2 separate regions of the Homo sapiens genome follow, and region 2 is linked to region 1. The links are contacts of gene promoters, found by promoter capture Hi-C in blood cells and fetal thymus (Javierre and others, 2016). All regions are on one chromosome and are shown on one strand. The core of a region is centred on a gene start or on the middle of the fragment in contact, and the rest is flanking DNA. Distances in the headings are between cores, read along the strand shown.

Region 1 (4,587 bases), core at 556-3,055:
TGGGACTTGTGATTGGCATTTGAAGTGGGGGGCAGTCTTTTGGGACTGAGCCCTGAACGTATGGGATCTGACACTAACTCCAGGTACACAGTGTCAGAACTGGGTTAAATTATAGGACGTAGAGTTGGTGGCCACTGGAGAATTGGTTGTCGGTGGGAAGAAATTCCCATACATTTTGGTGACAAGAGGTGAAGGGCTGTACTGAGTGTGTGAGAGTAAAGAGAAAAAAGTTTTTTGTTTTTTTTTTCCTCTCAGAACAACCAAAGCCAGATTAAAAGATGAAATGGCTGAACAATTGCCAGCCCATATAGAGAGCTAAATCCTCACTGGGATCACACAGAAGAGCAATGATGTCAATTAACTGTGTTTCCACAGGTTATCTGTTATACAGCTGGAGAAATGCAAGTTAGTCTGGTCCTTCTCCACTACAGTAGACAGAGTGGCTTAGAAATTAAAACACTGCTCCTCGGCAGAGGTATGTACCTACATGCGCGTACTTCTGCAATTCACACATGCAAATTGTGCAATGATTCCTTTATTTATCAAAAATTTACTTCCTTAAATATGCCTCCAAAAAGGTATCTGGTTCTAAAGATCGCACAAAAGAACGGGAGTAGAAGAAAAGTAAGTGTGATTGGTGAAAAAACAGAAATGAAAGACAATTCCAGTTGAGTTAAATGTCCCACATTTAGGGCATGTAAAACTACATGCCAGTATATAATTTTTATTAAGTACACACTAAGCAATGGATAATGAAAATAATGGCGTGTTTTGAGGAAACCTGGGCTATTGATCTTACAGGCGGTGATAGAAAATACCATACTTGTGCTGGTATTTTCAAATGGTGGATGTGCTCACTGATTTATAAGTTTAAAGCTATAAAACTAAAGCTGTAACAAACAAGATGCAACTGTTGCTATAAAACTTCCAAGTCCTTAACCCTTCTTCCTCCCACTGAAATAAGTGTTTGTAGAGCATGATTTTTGAGGTTTCTGTGGAGCACAAATGTCAGTTCCTGCAGAACAGACTTTAACAGGCTTGGATACAATTGCATGGGTTGCAGTGAACTTTAACACCAATGATGTCAGGATATTGTGTTCTGATACATATGCAAAGTTTATTAATAAGCACAGCATCGGTATTTTTAAATCGATATTTTAAAGTACCACTGTTTTATTTGTCCTGCTCATCAAATCTTAGCATATTAACTCTTAGAGCTATCCTTATAACCAAGACCTATATTCACAGTAGATTTTTTGTATTCCTCCCTCATTCCCCCAACCCAGCCCCCACCCTACTCCCTACATTTTTGGACCCCATAGGAGGAAAGAGGGAGAGAACTGTCAGAAGGAAGAAGGCAGTTGGTGTGAACCTATGAAAATCAGCGTTTTCCAAAGTGTTCAAGAACTTTACTTCGATCCCAAATCAGTTCTCTGGAGGAGGTAAGAGTTTACTTGGCATGGCCCGATGCAAACCCTACCCTACGCGTGGATTTTGTTTCTCCCCAGAGCCTCTTCAGAATCTTGGTTAATTCCAGAGCTGCTAAGGGACTCCAGGGTCGCGGAGGGAGGGCCCTGCGCCCCTCAGCGCTGCTTAGGGTCTTCCTGGGCGACTGCACTGGGAAACTAAGCCGGCCCAGGCGATGTGCCCCGGGCGGCCCCAAGAAAAAGACTAGCGGCTCAGAAGCCACGGGCTTTACCTCTAGGAAGTGGCTATGAGGCCCGGTACAGTGGCGGCTGTCTCCTCTTGGAACCGCGCAGTGAAAATCGAGTGCGCCAACTCGGGCCGCAGCTCCGGAGAGGGGTGGGGCAGGGACAGGGTCATCTCCATAGGGATCCAACAACACGGAGCCACCACCCCGCCCCACAGGCCCGCAGCCCCTCCCGCCGCCGCGCCCGGACGGCCAACCTGCATCTCCCCAGCTGCAGTGAGCAAAGCCGCCCGCGCCGTGCGAGCCACCGCCCTTCTCTTGAGGCCAGCTAGGCTCGGGTCCCGGCTCCTTTCCCTGCCTCCAGGGAGCTTGCGGTGGGAGAAAGCTTCCGTGGGGTCCCGTGGGTCGCGGCACGTCTCGGAAGCCCTGCGAGGTGCCCAGCAGAGGTGCCAGACCCAAGGCCGTGGGACCCCAAGAAGAGACTTGGACACTGAAGCCAACGTTTGCTTGATCTCAAACAAAGCCAGCGATGTTAATTAAGGCTGTGTGATGAGGAAAGTGGAGTTTCTTATTTTTTGTCACATTCATCTTCAGCAGATCCTCAGAAAATGTTAATATTTACTGCAGAATTACCAATTTCAGCATTATACAGGAGGTACAAAAACAAAACCAAAAAACCCTTCTTCATTAGTTTCAGGTCAAAATGTCTTTTAACTATTTATTGTGAAGCCTGTTTTTTTCTTTTGTATGTAATAGTTATGGCCATGAAAAGATGCTCACAGTACATTACTTACAAAAAGCAGCTTAGAAAACCAGCAGAATGGTACGATCTATTTTTTTTGCAACGTGTGTAAGAAATCTGGGAGTATGTACACAAATAGGTTAAATGGTTTGCTCTGGTAGTTTTAAAAATCATCTGTAATTCAATTTTTCCTACAACGAATAAGCAACATCTATGTAATAAACCATAAGTTTCATTCTAGTAAAGTTTCATATGAGAAATGTGATCTTGCTATGCTGCCTAGGCTGGAGTGCAGTGGCTATTCACAGGCCTGGTCATTGTGCACTATATTTTTATTTTTATTTCAAATATCTTTTTCTTTTTCATCTGTATGCCAGTAAAATCATCATTGTACACTATAGCCTAGAACTCCTGGGCTCAAGCAATCCTCCCGCCTCAGCCTCCAGAGTAGCTAAAAGTACTGGTGCCTGTCACCAAACCAGGCCTTAAATTTTATTCTAATCCAGGCACTGCATTTTTTCCTGTTTCCTTGAACATGTGTTTAAGGAGTGTGAAAGGATACAAATTAGATAAGCTAATATTTCGCTACCTGGGACCCATTTAGGGCCCTGTGACACAAAGGGCGAATGAACCAAGTGAATAAACAAGGTCAATCCACTGCTCTGTCACAACCCGCAGGAACCAGCTTTTTGCTTTACTCTATCTCAGGACCAATCCAAGAAAAACATGTCACATGACAAAGTGTCCTTTCGCCCTGTCAGACCCTAGAGTACGACTTTTTCCCCCTTAAATCCCTATTCTCACAACCCAAATGAAGTTTCCTCCATGATGCTGTAATTTTTAAAAGGGGTATTAAAAAGACCAATTTACTGATCAAAATACTTTGAATTCAGAAAGCCAAAAATTATTAAAATCAAGATTTGAAAAATATTCAGTAAGTCCCTCTCCTCCCCTCCCCCAATTAGGTGCTTATTTCTGTGGCCTGGAAACAAGGAGACAGAAGCATGAGCATCTTCTGCAACACAAAGGTAACTGAGTTATAAATAAGCAAAATGTGTTCTATCCATACCATGGCATATGATCAGCCAAAACAAGAAATGAAGTACATGCAATAACATGGATGAAGCTTCAATCCTTGAAAACATCATGCTAAGTAAACGAAACCAGTCACAAAAGGCCACGTATTGTATGATTCCATTTATATAAAATGTCTAGAATAGAAAATCCAGAGAGCTGGAAAGGAGGTTAGTGGCTGCCAAAGGCTGAGGGGATTAGGGGACAAGGAGTGACTGTTAATGGGATTCTTTTTAGTGTGATGAAAATGTTCTAGAATTAGATCACGGTGATGGGTATATAACTCTATGAATCTACTAACAATCACTGAATTGTACACTTTAAAGGGGTACATTTTATGACATAAATTATTGTTTCAATAAAGCTGTTTTTAAAGGGTGATGAAATTAATGTTTACTGAGCATTACTGGTATCAGCTATTGTGCTAGGCATCTCTCTTTTTTTTTTTTTTTTTGAGACAGAGTCTTGCTCTGTCGCCTAGGCTAGAGTGCAGTGGCACAATTTCGGCTCACTGCAACCTCTCTGCCTCCTGAGTTCAAGCAATTCCTGTGTCTCAGCCTCCCTGATAGTTGGGATTACAGGAGCCCGCCACCACGTCCGGCTAATTTGTGTGTATGTGTTTTTAGTGGAGATGGGGTTTCACCATGTTGGCCGGTCTGGGTATTGAACCCCTGACCTCAAGTGATCCACCTGCCTCAGCCTCCCAAAGTGCTGGGATTATAGGCGTGAGCTACCGTGCCCGGCTTGTGCTAAGCATCCTATACGCGCTTTTTCACTTACTCCCCATACAACAACTACCAACTTGGTTACTGACCTCATTTTCTAGATTTAAAAAAAAAAAAAAGAAAAAAGAAAAAAATCCAACCTGAGTAAACGTGCATGAACACAAAGTTAAGGGGGCAGAACGGCGATTCAAATTAAGGTGTAAGTAACTTTAAAGCTCACATTCTTTCATCACACCAGTATTTAAATGTACACAAGGTACAGAATTTGCAAGGAGTTCAAGAACCTCAAATTTTATAAACACAGTTTACTTTTAAGGATTGAACCCTTGTATTTCCCAGATTGAAGACTATATGGGTTTCTTCAAAACAGACAACAGAGATTAATTTAAAACAAT
Region 2 (4,587 bases), core at 688-3,187, 560 kb before region 1:
CTCAAACAAACAAACAAACAAAAACTGCCTGTAAATTTTTTGACACTCATCTCATCAAAACAGCATTAGGCCTCTTCCCTGAATCTGAGGTTCACTTATGGACTCTCTTCCTGTGTAACTTTCAAGACTGAATAAGAAAACACCGCATAGCTTCCCCTTGGTTCTCTTGGGACACACGCCTCTGGAGCTCTGGGCTACAATATAAGAAGTCCAGCTACCCTGACACGGCCATGCTGTAAGGAAGCCATGCCACAGGGAAAAGCCATGTGTAGGTGCGTCCACCAGCAGCAGCAGCCAAGGTTCCCAGGTGATAGCCACTATCGACTGCCTCCAGGTGCTTCCAGGGTCCAGCTGTCGAGTGCCAGCATCTGTAGCATCTTCCCTGTGGAACCCCCAGGTATTATACGCTATGGAGCAAAGTCCTTGCACTAGCTCAGGCCAACTGAAATGGTGAATCTGGGCAGCCATGTTTATACCATAATGACCCTGTCTCCCAATGATACAGCAGATTGGACTATGGGCAAGTAGCTGTCAGGAAAGGCTAGCACATTGGCTGGCCGGGAAAACTCCAACAAAGAGACAGAGAAACTATAGTCAAAGAAAGCATGGAGGTGTTTTTAGTGAAATTATCTAATATTGACCCTGTAATGTCCTCTGGAAGCCATGCACTCATACTGAAGAGCAGAGAAACTGGTTTGCAGAAGTCAGCGGGAGAGTGGAACACATTGCCTGAACAAAGCAATAGTAAGAGACCATCTGGTGCTAAATCAAGATAGATGGAGAGGGAAGACACATCTGTCCCGGGCAACTTCCTGGTTTCCTGATTAGCACCCACCATACCCACAGTTCCTGTAAGATGTGTCTATGCCTTTTGTAATTTGTCTAACTTGAGGGATTTTGAGAATATCTATTTTATTACTCTGTGCTTTTGCACATGCTGCTCCCTCTGCCCAAAAGGCACTTCCTCATCTTCATTCCTTTGCTGAAATGTCCTTCAATACCCACCTTAAGTATCTTCTTCTCTGAGAAACTTCCTCATATACCTCCCTACTTTGCAGCACCCCTATACCTTATAAATACCTCTGTTTGTATGGATTACGTACACAGTATTACAATTATTTGATAATAAGTTTCTCTCTTCTACTTTGCAATCATATCTATTAAGAAATTTTTAGCTGCAAATAATAGAAATCCTGATTCTGGCTTAAACCATGAGAAATACATTTATTATCTGTCAAAAGTCAAGAAGGCAAGGGCAGGCTTCAGGGTTGATTAATTCACTGATCAATAATGTCCACAAAGACTCAGGCTTCTCTCATCTCTCTCCTGGGCTGTCGTCAGTGTTGGCCGCACCGTGGACCGGTGACAGGTGGCATGAGCAGAGCTCACGTGACAAGTAGGGAAAAGAAAACTTTCTCCAGAACCATCCTTTTCTTCATGTATCATGTCATGGACCAATTTCTGAACCAACCAACCACTGGGATTGGTTTTACCATGGGGTGGAATTATCACAATTGACTTAATCACCTCGGTGTGAAATGGATATTAAACTGACAACTCCATCACCAGAAGAGTTAACAGCGAAGCAGACCTTTTCTAAAATTTCTGTTTCAAGGCATAGATTTTAAGCTGTAATTGACAGGGACTCTTTTTAAAGTTTTTTTTTTTTCCAAATCTTCTTCATATAATAAAGACATATATAGCTAACAAAATTATATCATAAATCACTCAGAGAGGGTTTACTTGATTAAGGTTGAAATGTCTTCTATAAAGCAACATTTGTTAATATAAATAAATATTCTATTAAAAAGAAGTATATGGTCATTATGTCTTCATTTCTAGCCCTTCAAAATATGTTTGATATTCCCTTGTTAATATGACTAATAAGTAATTTTTCTGCACCAAGAAAATCATGTACATTTTGGCAGGTGATTAATCTCTGTGCAAAATGAACAGAATCTAATATTTATGAACAAATTACTGATAGCTATATAATCTATTTCCATAATAAATGCACTGGTCCGTATGACAAAGCCAAAAAGAATATAAAAACAGCCTGACAAGATTCAAACACGGAAGATAAGAAAACTCTAATATATGGCCGTGAACATCTTCTGTTCTGTCTACTCATTGCTTGTCCTACCCTTCCACAAAATGCCACTTTTTCACTTTAGTTACATACGTCCATGTGAAAATTCCCATAATCCTATGTGCCCTGGGCACAGTGAATGGCTAGGGGTGCCCAGATGGGCCCAGTTGAAACATTCATCACACTTTCATCTTACCCTCTGGCTGCAGCTAATTGGTCTGTGGATAACACTGACCCAACAGAAACCTTCCCACAGGAGTTAGCTTTCTTCCTTTCTTCTTCATTTTAGTAATTTTGGGGGCACAAATAGTTTTTTGTTGCACAGATGAATTATGTAGCAGTGAATTGAGATTTTAGTGCTCCCATCACCCATGTAGTGTACGTTGTACCTAATGTGTAGTTTTTTATCCCTAACCCCCCTTCCACCTTTCCTGTTCTGAGTACCTATAGTCCAATATATCACTCTGTATGCCTTTGCGTACTCACAGCTCAGCTTCCACTTATCAATGAGAACACATGGTTTTTGGTTTTCCACTCCCAAGTTACTTCACTTAGAATAATGGCCTCCAGCTTCATCCAAGTTGCTGCAAAGACATTATTTCATTCCTTTTAATGGCTGAGTAGTATTCCATGGTGTATATATACCACATTTGCTTTATCCACTCATTAGTCAAAGGGCACTTAGGCTAGTTCCACATCTTTGCAATTGTGAATTGGGCTGCTATAAACATGCACGTGCAAAGATTATTTTCATGTAATGACTTTTTTTCCTCTGGGTAGATACTCAGTAGTAGGGTTGCTGGATCAAATGGTAGATCTACTTTTAGTTCTTTAAGGAATCTCCATACTGTTTTCCATAGAGGTTGTACTAATTTACATTCCCATCAGCACTGCATAAAAGTTCCTTTTTCCCCATATCCATAGCAATATCTGTTGCTTTTGACTTTTTAATAATGGCCATTCTTGAAGGAGTAAGGTGGTATTGCACTGTGGTTTTAATTTGCATTCCTCCCCCTCCCCCAGGAGCTTTTAACTTGACAACAGAGAGATCAAGTTTTAAGTCCTCTTTAGTGATGAAACTATGAGCCTGTAAACTGCTGTTAGCCATACTTCCAGCCGTGTGAAAGAAGTGAGTGTGGGAGAATACACACTCTGTTCATCTGTATTCACACTGCTAAGAAGATATACCCAAGACTGGGTAATTTATACAGGAAAGAGATTTAATTGACTCATAGTTCAGCATGGCTGTGGAGGCCTCAGGAAACTTACAATCATGGCAGAAGAGGAAGCAAACACGTCCTTCTTCACATGGTGGCAGAGAGAACCATCAGATCTCGTGAGAACTCACTCAGCTATCACAAGAACAGCATGGAGGTAATTGCCCCCATGATTCAATGACCTCCCACCAGGTCCCTCCCACAACACATGGGGATTATGGGAACTACAATTCTAAATGAGATTTGGGTGGGGACACAGCCAAACCGTATCAACAGAAAATATGAAGAAAGAAGCAGAAACAAAAAGGTAATCTGTTACTATCTGAGTCCCTGAGGTCTAGGTGCAACTTAACCCTTCCTGAAGTTTGGTTACGAGAGACAATAAAATTTTCCCTTCCAGAACTAATTTGAATTGTGATCAAACACATGAAACAAAATTATCTTGACTAATCATACTAATACTAACACAACTTTCATCTCCACTGTATTTTGTTTGTTTGCTTGCTTGCTTTTAAATATTTTCCTGAAGTATATGTTTGGGAGGGACTTCTATTTTATGTATACTTTCAAAGTCACTTAAAAATGATCTTTTCAGGAAACAATATGAGAGATATAACATGTCTGTATTAAAATTCACTTTTTTTCTCCTTGGATAAGGCTTCTAGCATTGTCTTGCACCAATATTACAGTAAGTAATGGACATTGTGAAGTGCTGCTCAAATCCCCCTTCAGGACTGAAGAACTTCTTCCCTCCATTACTGGGAATACTGTCAGCAAATGGCCCTCAACTGACACCTTCTTCTGGAATTTCCTCACCACCTTGCTCAAGGTCACACCCCTTCTGGAGGCAGCCTGCATACAGTGTCTGGAATAAAGGCCTGGCTCTCTCGTCAAGTTGGGACAATTCTGGGAGACCACCCTAGGAGCTTCCCATGGATGAACTGAGGACTTTCTTGAGGCTGCATTGAAGTTCATCTTCTGCCCAATCTGTCCTTCCGCTTCCTTCCACAGGCGTTGCTTCCAAGACCACTCCCAATCCACTCCCAGCATTCTAATCTTCATCTCAGGGGCAGCCCCTCCTAAAGAACTCAACAGGTAGCACAACACTTTAAAAATCGTCAAACTGGGCCGGGCACGGTGGCTCATGCCTGTAATCCCAGCACTTTAGGAGGCCGAGGCAGGTAGATCACAAGGTCAAGAGATCAAGACCATCCTGGCCAACATGGTGAAACCCCGTCTCTACCAAAAATACAAAAACTAGCTGGGCATGGTGGCACGTGC

The links. The method cuts DNA at HindIII sites, captures the fragments that hold promoters and counts their contacts. A CHiCAGO score of 5 or more calls a contact.
Region 2: a fragment that was not itself captured here is called in contact with the fragment with the promoter of ECT2L in region 1 in 2 of 17 cell types (megakaryocytes and M2 macrophages); the score reaches 5.8 in megakaryocytes.

What each region holds. Positions count from the first base shown.
Region 1 is chr6:138,793,305-138,797,891 of GRCh38, reverse strand. It overlaps ECT2L (epithelial cell transforming 2 like), which reads right to left and starts at 1,805. Exons shown (of 22, transcript NM_001077706.3): 1 at 1,700-1,805. It overlaps CCDC28A (coiled-coil domain containing 28A), which reads right to left. Exons shown (of 6, transcript NM_015439.3): 6 at 4,573-4,587. The HindIII fragment of the contact is 4,734 bases long and covers 1-2,038 here.
Region 2 is chr6:139,357,591-139,362,177 of GRCh38, reverse strand. No RefSeq gene overlaps it. Among named protein-coding and RNA genes, the nearest start is that of CITED2, 15 kb to the left of the region's middle. The HindIII fragment of the contact is 9,947 bases long and covers 1-4,587 here.